2 separate regions of the Homo sapiens genome follow, and region 1 is linked to region 2. The links are contacts of gene promoters, found by promoter capture Hi-C in blood cells and fetal thymus (Javierre and others, 2016). All regions are on one chromosome and are shown on one strand. The core of a region is centred on a gene start or on the middle of the fragment in contact, and the rest is flanking DNA. Distances in the headings are between cores, read along the strand shown. Region 1 holds the start of CDK4 (cyclin dependent kinase 4). Region 2 holds the start of RDH5 (retinol dehydrogenase 5).

The links. The method cuts DNA at HindIII sites, captures the fragments that hold promoters and counts their contacts. A CHiCAGO score of 5 or more calls a contact.
Region 1: the fragment with the promoter of CDK4 here is called in contact with a fragment that was not itself captured in region 2 in 1 of 17 cell types (total CD4 T cells); the score reaches 6.6 in total CD4 T cells.

The regions. Positions count from the first base shown.
Region 1 is chr12:57,751,060-57,755,501 of GRCh38, forward strand. CDK4 (cyclin dependent kinase 4) reads right to left here and starts at 1,251. Exons shown (of 8, transcript NM_000075.4): 1 at 1,116-1,251; 2 at 441-677; 3 at 148-283; 4 at 1-31. The coding sequence starts at 658. It overlaps MARCHF9 (membrane associated ring-CH-type finger 9), which reads left to right and starts at 4,044. Exons shown (of 4, transcript NM_138396.6): 1 at 4,044-4,442. RefSeq lists silencers at 401-540, 1,271-1,350, 1,581-1,700, 3,807-4,046 and an enhancer at 877-1,610. The HindIII fragment of the contact is 8,675 bases long and covers 1-4,442 here.
Region 2 is chr12:55,718,676-55,722,898 of GRCh38, forward strand. RDH5 (retinol dehydrogenase 5) reads left to right here and starts at 1,718. Exons shown (of 5, transcript NM_002905.5): 1 at 1,718-1,842; 2 at 2,478-2,819; 3 at 3,014-3,272. The coding sequence starts at 2,510. BLOC1S1-RDH5 (BLOC1S1-RDH5 readthrough) reads left to right here. Exons shown (of 6, transcript NR_037658.1): 3 at 416-548; 4 at 3,014-3,272. It overlaps BLOC1S1 (biogenesis of lysosomal organelles complex 1 subunit 1), which reads left to right. Exons shown (of 4, transcript NM_001487.4): 3 at 416-548; 4 at 824-1,028. The coding sequence ends at 934. RefSeq lists an enhancer at 2,153-2,781. The HindIII fragment of the contact is 1,627 bases long and covers 1,801-3,427 here.

The sequences.
Region 1 (4,442 bases), core at 1-2,500, 2.0 Mb after region 2:
CTAGGCCTCTTAGAAACTGGCGCATCAGATCCTAGTTTCAAAGGGGAGGTACAGATGCACTGGAAACTAGGCACCATACCTGAAATCCCAGAAGGTTCTACTACAAAGGTCCCAATCCACCTCTCAATGCCTACCAACCCCACTCACCTTGATCGTTTCGGCTGGCAAGCCTGGTGGGGGTGCCTTGTCCAGATATGTCCTTAGGTCCTGGTCTACATGCTCAAACACCAGGGTTACCTTGATCTCCCGGTCAGTTCGGGATGTGGCACAGACGTCCATCAGCCTGACCAGAGTAAATGCTCACTTTTCAATCCCCTTTAACCCAACATGGCCTCTCATTATTTCCTCAGGGTCCCCACTTCTCTACAGATCATCACACCCCACCTATAGGCTGTCTTTTCCCTTTACTCCCCACGCCCAACCCTCCACCACCTTCTCACCGGACAACATTGGGATGCTCAAAAGCCTCCAGTCGCCTCAGTAAAGCCACCTCACGAACTGTGCTGATGGGAAGGCCTCCTCCACCTCCTCCTCCATTGGGGACTCTCACACTCTTGAGGGCCACAAAGTGGCCACTGTGGGGATCACGGGCCTTGTACACTGTCCCATAGGCACCGACACCAATTTCAGCCACTGGCTCATATCGAGAGGTAGCCATTCTCAGATCAAGGGAGACCCTACAATCACAGACTCCTATCACCAAAAGTCGCTTACAGAGTTAGGATGGTATGAGCCTGCAGCAACAAAGGGACTCCCAAAAAAAAAGCGCAAAGAACACCACCAGCATCCCATCCCCCGCTCCCAGTCTTCCTTGGGGCCGGCCCCAGAGATAACACAATGACTCAATACCAACCCCTCCAGCCACGTGAGGCCCTGCAATAGAAAACGCTTTTTCCTTTGGGACAATCGCGCCCCGCACAAAGATCACACATGACACATGCCTTGCATCGAAGATCCTACACCTCAGTCCCTAAAATTATACTTTCCCATGACCACAAAGGCCCCACTTCCCGCCCTTGAGCGACCCTTCCATAACCAGCTCGCGAAACGAACGCGTGGAAAGCTGTGAGGGGGGCGGGCACTGGTTCTCATTCCTGGGAAGGGACTGCACTTACCTCACGCCAGCCCGGGGTGCTGTGGGGGCGGCCCGTTATCGGGGCCCCGGAGCCGGTTCCTACGGCCCCATACACCCGAGCTCGGTCCGGAGCAGCTGGACGCAGAGGGCCCGACCATAGACACAGGCCGCAAGCTAGAGAGGCCCCCTCACCCCCACCCTCACCATGTGACCAGCTGCCAAAGAGGCGCGCGGAAACTGGGAGGGCGGGGCGAACGCCGGACGTTCTGGGCACGTGACCGCCACCCATGCGCTGAGGGGCGGACAGGAGGTGCTTCGACTGGGAGGAGGGCGAAGAGTGTAAGGGGGCGGAGGGGCGATGGCAGCCACGTGATCTGTTGCTATCACACGTGACCGCTTGACATTGCTCTGAGGAGCAGAGGTGTGGCTACGCGGCGGGCACGTGACTGGCTGCCACAACCCCCGCTGCAGGGGGGGAGCGGTGAGGGGGACAAGAGAGGGTGGAGCCCGAGGCGGTGCCATGGCAACCTAGGCCACCCAGAGCCCAACTCCCGGCTGAAGGATTGTCTCACTACCGGTCTGAAGGCTGAACTCCAGTCTCACTACCGGTCTTTCAGCCTGTCTGCATTGGGGAGGGGGTGGGAGTTGGGGTACCAGAGGTGATGCTGTCACCTTTTCGCTCCACCATGAGAAAACATACTCTCATTTGTGTCATTGTTTCATTCATTAATTCTACAACATTTTACTGAGTGCTTGCTTCCAGTGTGTATGTGGGTTTTTATTTTGTTTTTGGTGTCTGTCACTGGCCCTTTAAAGTAGTGGTACGACTATCTATAAAGATGTAGCCAACAATGGGGTCTTCTACAATAGGGAGTAAACAATGCCCATTTGAGGGCAAAACTACGATTAAAGGATGACGGAAGGCAGATTAATACAGTAATCCAACAGGCTCAGTGACAAGGTAATCCTCTCACTTTTCCAACTTCCAAACCTCCCTGGGAGTGTTAATGCAAAGACCTGAGGCCATCTGGCAGAGAAGTTATTGATGAGCAGGAGACAGGAATACTTGACCTTTTAAGTTTTTTTTTTTTTTCCAGTAGGAAGGTTCTATGATTATGTGATATTTGTATGTGTGCATATATGCTTCTATGTATATATGTATGTATATGATATTATTTATCACATCATATATAAGACGGATACAGGATTGCACATGTGCAAGAAAGTTACCACCACACCCCCTGCACCCTCCAGACCACCACAATGAATGAAAATGACATGCCCCCTTCTGCAAACCTTGTGACTACTCATTTGGAGTTATTGTGCTTCCCTCTTTTTCCCTAGTGCCGCTTTCTTAGCACTTAGCACTGTCCAGAACACACTTGTTCCCAAATGGCCTCTGCCCAGACACCTAGGTAGACACAAGTAGATTTCTCCTACTTTGTTTTATTGGCTCCAAGGTCTTTATCTCCCAGCCCTTTGGGGGTATGGGAGTAAAGGAGGAAAGCGGTTAGTGTCTCATTTGTGAGAATTTGTCTAAAATCTAAAGCCATTTTATTACCCTATTTGCCACTCCTTCCACTCTAACTTCTGTTTTCCTTAACCATCTGGCTGAGAATATAAGAGTTCAAACTAGAAGATGAATATAAACCATGACTTAGAGCAAAATAGAATACATATTAATACAGATGCCTCCTCTTTCCATCCTGATACTTGTAGCCCTGGGCCCCTCCTGGCAAGGGCAGCTGGAACACTAGTAAGAAAAACCTCAAGGACTGAACTGACTAAGGGGCTCAAGAGGTGAATGTTTTATTGGCTACCTTGCTAGGGGTGGGTGCTTTGTAAGCCTTCTGGAAGGCTAAGATAATTGTCTGTGAGTTTTTCAAACTCCCTTCCCACACCAGCATTCCCCACTTCAGCCTCACCTTCCACATAAGACCTTCACAGCTTACTGTCTTTGCAACAGAAGACGTCCTCTCTGTCTGCTTGGGTCCCAGCCCCTTTTTCTGATTCATTCATTAGTCCATCCAAAACATTTGAATACTTCATGGGAACATTACTGTCTCTCCATCACTTTCTATTGAGGAACCTTAATTTGGCAGTCTGTCCCAGGCTCTGTCCCCTCCCTTCTTCTGTTAATTACTCTTTCACTAATTAAATTTTTTCCCAGTATGTTTGACCCAATGAGCTCCCCTGGAATCCCTTTTCCCTCAGCTTTGCAAAGGGGAGGAGAGGGAGAATGTAAGTGTAAGAAAGAAAAAAATGTGATGGGGGTAGAACTTGGCCTCAGAGGGAAGTCTCCATAAAAGGAAAGGGGTAAGTGTGTGTATTGTTCACTTCAGTGTAGTGGAGGTGAGGGCAGGAGAGTACCAGGAAAGACACTCCCATCCCTTTAGCACGCCTACCTCCCCTGCTCCCTCCCTCACCTCCTTCACACATTACAATCACAGGCTTCTGTTTCTCAGACAATCCGATTCCATTCCTTACACACCTCTCTTTCCCAGTCCCCATCGATCACACTTTTCAGCCCTTTGGGTAAAGTGTATATTGCTTGAGTCCCACCCCTGCCCATGTACCTCCCTCACACCTCCGACACTTGCACAGCTCTTTCTTTGCACATTCCCATTTTGCACAAGCCTCACCCTCCCTGGTACACCTGCGTCATTTAACCACTCACCTTCCATGCTCACCCGCTCATCCCCCACTCCCAGACACACACCTAGTCAACTTGTGTGCACACTCCCCTTCCTTGGCCACTCCCCTTCCTCCACCCTCCTCGGGATCCCACACTTGCCCCCGCCCCTGGGACACCTGCTCGTGCGGGGCAGGGCGGGGATGCGCAGCCGCGGCCCCTTCTCCTCTCCCCCTCCCCGCCCCGCCCCTCCCTCCATCCTTCACCCGCTCCCCGGCGCCCGCCCCGCCCGCCCGCCACTCCGGGGGGGTCTCCGCCGCCGCCGCCGCCGGAAGGAGCCGCCATTTGCCACCGCCGAGCGCACGGGCCGAGCCAAGCCTGATCCCGGAGCCGGAGGGGGACTGGGACCGAGAGAACGGCGATGGGGGGCGGCCCCGCCGCAGGAGGACCCGGGCGCGTAACCCCGGGGGCCCGGCCCGCTCCAGACCCAGACCCGCGGGGTGCGGCACCCTGAGCCCCCCTCCCCGCCCCCTGCCCTGGCCATGGCCGCCCACCCCGCCGCCCCCGGGCCGCCAGCCCGCTCGGCCCCGCAAGCACCGGAGCCCCGGCGGTGGCAGCAGTGAACGGCTGTCGCAGGCCCCGAAGACCCCGGCCCGGCTCGGCTCTCTAGCGCGCGCCCCCTTCCCGGCCTTGTCCTCTCCCCTCCCCCCGCCGCTAGCGAGCCCCCCTTGCACG
Region 2 (4,223 bases), core at 1,364-3,863:
CCCTCTCCAACTTCTTGCATAGATCCCTAGGCTTCCAATCACTGCCAGATGTGTTCCTCCTGCTGGATTTTCCCAGTTTTTCCATGCCCCTTTTTCCCTCCCAGCTTTTTCCTCAGGGATATCACCCCAGGTTTTCCCTCCCTTCCCCCACTCAGCTGCAGGAACTCCTTTTTGGGGTTTGGAGCTGGTATGTTTCTAGTCAGCTCCGAGCTTGGCTCTCCTGGGAATCCTGGGAGTGAAAGGAAGGAGCTGGGTTTATTTGCATGTACTGGTAGTCATTTGCATCACATCCAAAAATGGCCAAAATTATGAGCCCTGATTCTTGGCTGAACTCCCACTGCTGCAATGGAATATTAGTCCCGGAGACCACCCCCAACTAGCTGGAGCTGATCTCCTCCCTCCTCCAACCCCCCAGTGTGGCCCAGGCCTACATGAACCAGAGAAAGCTGGACCATGAGGTGAAGACCCTACAGGTCCAGGCTGCCCAATTTGCCAAGCAGACAGGCCAGTGGATCGGAATGGTGGAGAACTTCAACCAGGCACTCAAGGTGGGCCATACTCCCTACCTCACCACCCCAATCCTGGGCCCCCATTGGCTGCCTCCAGTCAGGTTACCTCAGGTTTAGGTTAAGGAGGAAGTAGGGTGGTCCCAGAAACCCCATCTATAGCCCCAGTGTCAGAAAAGGTAGAGAAAGAAAGAAAAGCAGTTGGTGGGTCCAAGTAAAGCCTTTTCCAGGAGATGAATAAAACGTATTCCCCAGACTGGAAGCCATACTCTACCCATTCTGATTCCTGGGCTCCCACCTCCTCTCCCCCTTCCCAGGAAATTGGGGATGTGGAGAACTGGGCTCGGAGCATCGAGCTGGACATGCGCACCATTGCCACTGCACTGGAATATGTCTACAAAGGGCAGCTGCAGTCTGCCCCTTCCTAGCCCCTGTTCCCTCCCCCAACCCTATCCCTCCTACCTCACCCGCAGGGGGAAGGAGGGAGGCTGACAAGCCTTGAATAAAACACAAGCCTCCGTTTCTCTGTGGTGTGTTTCAGAGAGCTACTAGCTCCAGTGTCGGGGGTGGGAGTGGAAGGTTCAAAGGTGGTTTCCCTGAGGGACAGGTACCTTTTGGGGAGAGGGTGGAACTAGCTTCCTCTTACTATCCCAACTCTCTTCTCCTCCATGGCCCTTGTGCAGGTGTCTGTTAGGCAAGCAGAGGGTGGGAGTTCCCATCCCTCCTGAGAGAAGGTCCTAGTAGCCCTGCCCCAAGCTTCCTAATTCAGGACTTGTTTCCTACAGAAGAGAAACAAGGCAAGGTACAGGCCTGGTCCCCAGCTCTGGCTTTCTGCCTCTCCACGTGCTCATGGCCTCTCCCAGGCTAACTCTAAGCAGTGTCATGAGTCTGAGCCAGGTGGGAGATTAATTCCTGGGGGCACTTCAGGGCTGAGAAGGGGGAGGAATGACAGGTCCAGTAACCGTTACCAACAGAGCAGTGCAGCTGCCATCCTTGACAGCTCCCTCCTCCTTGGAGACCATGACATAGATGGTCAGGAACCCAGGCTGAGAAAGACAGCCAAGGGGTGGGGGGAGCCTAGGCAAATCTGGCCTCTGCCAAGTCCTGGCTTCAGCCAGGCAAGCTCCAGCCTCCCTGGCTCCTCCTCCTCCTCAGTCCTATCCCCACCCTGTCACACATACACTTAATACGCCTGGCATCCAAGTCCACCCACTCCGGACTTTGGCCTTAGCAGTAGTTAGTGTGGGAGGCTGGGAAGACTGGGAGCAGTCTCTTAAACAAAAGCAAAAGAATAAGCTTCGGGCGCTGTAGTACCTGCCAGCTTTCGCCACAGGAGGTAAGTGGATACTGGGAGCTGGGGGAACTGAGAAGACTAGCCAGATATTACATGTATTGCCAACTCAAAACTTTCAGCTTTTAACATGCTTCCTCACACATTATCCCCTTTGATCCTCCACAACTCTGAGGTGGACCTGGTGGGTCTTAGCCCCACTTGGTAGATGAGAAAATAGGTTGAGAGAGACAGTGAGATGCTCAGTATCACACAGCAAACCTCTTGGCCCTATACATCATTCCAAACACAAGACCCAGGTTGCATATAGAAGGTTCAGTGTCCCTGGTTTAGAAGGAGAGGTGGTGTGAGGCAAGCAAGAAGATGCCTCTGCTGCACTCCAGCCTGGGCGACAGAGTGAGACTCCATCTCAAAAAAAAAAAAAAAAAAAAAAAGATGCCTCTGCTCCATACAGCAGGTCTGTACACAGGATCTGGCTCATGTGGTTTTAGTTAAGTTAGCCACAAATACAGGGTCTGCCCACATCTTTGCTTTGAACAGATGAGCCATGGTTGGCCAATTATCTGCCAACCAGATAATTTCTCAATATGCTCACACCAGATGCTTCCAGCTAGGGAGGGTATTAGGGGAAAGGGCTTGAGGGCCACAGTAAACTGGACAAGTTTTTCTGCCCAGCCTAGGCTGCCACCTGTAGGTCACTTGGGCTCCAGCTATGTGGCTGCCTCTTCTGCTGGGTGCCTTACTCTGGGCAGTGCTGTGGTTGCTCAGGGACCGGCAGAGCCTGCCCGCCAGCAATGCCTTTGTCTTCATCACCGGCTGTGACTCAGGCTTTGGGCGCCTTCTGGCACTGCAGCTGGACCAGAGAGGCTTCCGAGTCCTGGCCAGCTGCCTGACCCCCTCCGGGGCCGAGGACCTGCAGCGGGTGGCCTCCTCCCGCCTCCACACCACCCTGTTGGATATCACTGATCCCCAGAGCGTCCAGCAGGCAGCCAAGTGGGTGGAGATGCACGTTAAGGAAGCAGGTAAGTATGGTAGACCACCAGGAATATGGTGTGGGGTGTCCTGATCCCCACAGTCACCCCAGGAGTCACCTGCAAGGGCTGTGGTAAGCTAAAGGGACAATTTGAGGAGAAGCAGTTTTCAGATGCTCCCAGGAAGAAGAGGGAGCTGTGGGAGTGCCTCACCTACCCCCAGCATCCTTTTCATCTCCCCACAGGGCTTTTTGGTCTGGTGAATAATGCTGGTGTGGCTGGTATCATCGGACCCACACCATGGCTGACCCGGGACGATTTCCAGCGGGTGCTGAATGTGAACACAATGGGTCCCATCGGGGTCACCCTTGCCCTGCTGCCTCTGCTGCAGCAAGCCCGGGGCCGGGTGATCAACATCACCAGCGTCCTGGGTCGCCTGGCAGCCAATGGTGGGGGCTACTGTGTCTCCAAATTTGGCCTGGAGGCCTTCTCTGACAGCCTGAGGTGAGGGGTACAGGGCTCTGGGTTCCAGGACTAACAGCAGCCCACTCAACAAACGTGGGCCAGCAGAGGTGGTTAAGATACAGCACATTGGAATAGTTAAGAAGAGACAGTTTAGGGCTAGACTTCATGGGTTCAATGAAGTCTACCCTTATGTAAGCTTTGTGACCATAAGTAGATTACTTCTCTTTACCCATTTTTAACGTGTTTGTTTTTTGTTTTTTGAGATGGAGTCTTGCTCTGTCGCCAGGCTGGAGTGCAGTGGCGCGATCTTGGCTCACCACAATTTCCACCCCCGGGGTTCAAGCGATTCTCCTGCCTCAGCCTCCCGAGTAGCTGGGACTACAGGCATGCGCCACCATGCCTGGCTTATTTTTGTATTTTTAGTAGAGACAGGGTTTCACTATGTTGGCCAGGTTGGTCTCAAACTCCTGACCTCGTGATCCGCCCACCTCAGCCTCCCAAAGTGCTGGGATTACAGGTGTGAGCCACCACGCCCGGCCTTGCCTCTCGTCTTTAAACAATAAGGTTCAAAGTTCCGTGGGAGCACAAAGGAGACATGATGAGGACAACGGGAGTAGGGCCTGAGTTTTTTTTTGTTTTTTTTTTTTTAAGCGTTTTGCTCTTGTTGCCTAGGCTGGAGTGCAATGGCGAGATCTCAGCTCACTGCAACCCCTGCCTCTCAGGTTCATGTGATTCTCCTGCCTCAGCCTCCCGATTAGCTGGGCTTACAGGCACGTGCCACCACTCCCAGCTAATTTTTTTGTATTTTTAGTAGAGATGGAGTTATACCATGTTGGCCAGGCTGGTTTTGAACTCCTGACCTCAGGTGATCCACCCGACCCGGCCTCCCAAAGTGCTGGGATTACAGGCATGAGCCACCACACACGGCCCAAGGCCTGAGTTCTTAGCAGGAGTATAAGGCGCCTAAGCTTAGTCTACCTTCTAAGGAAG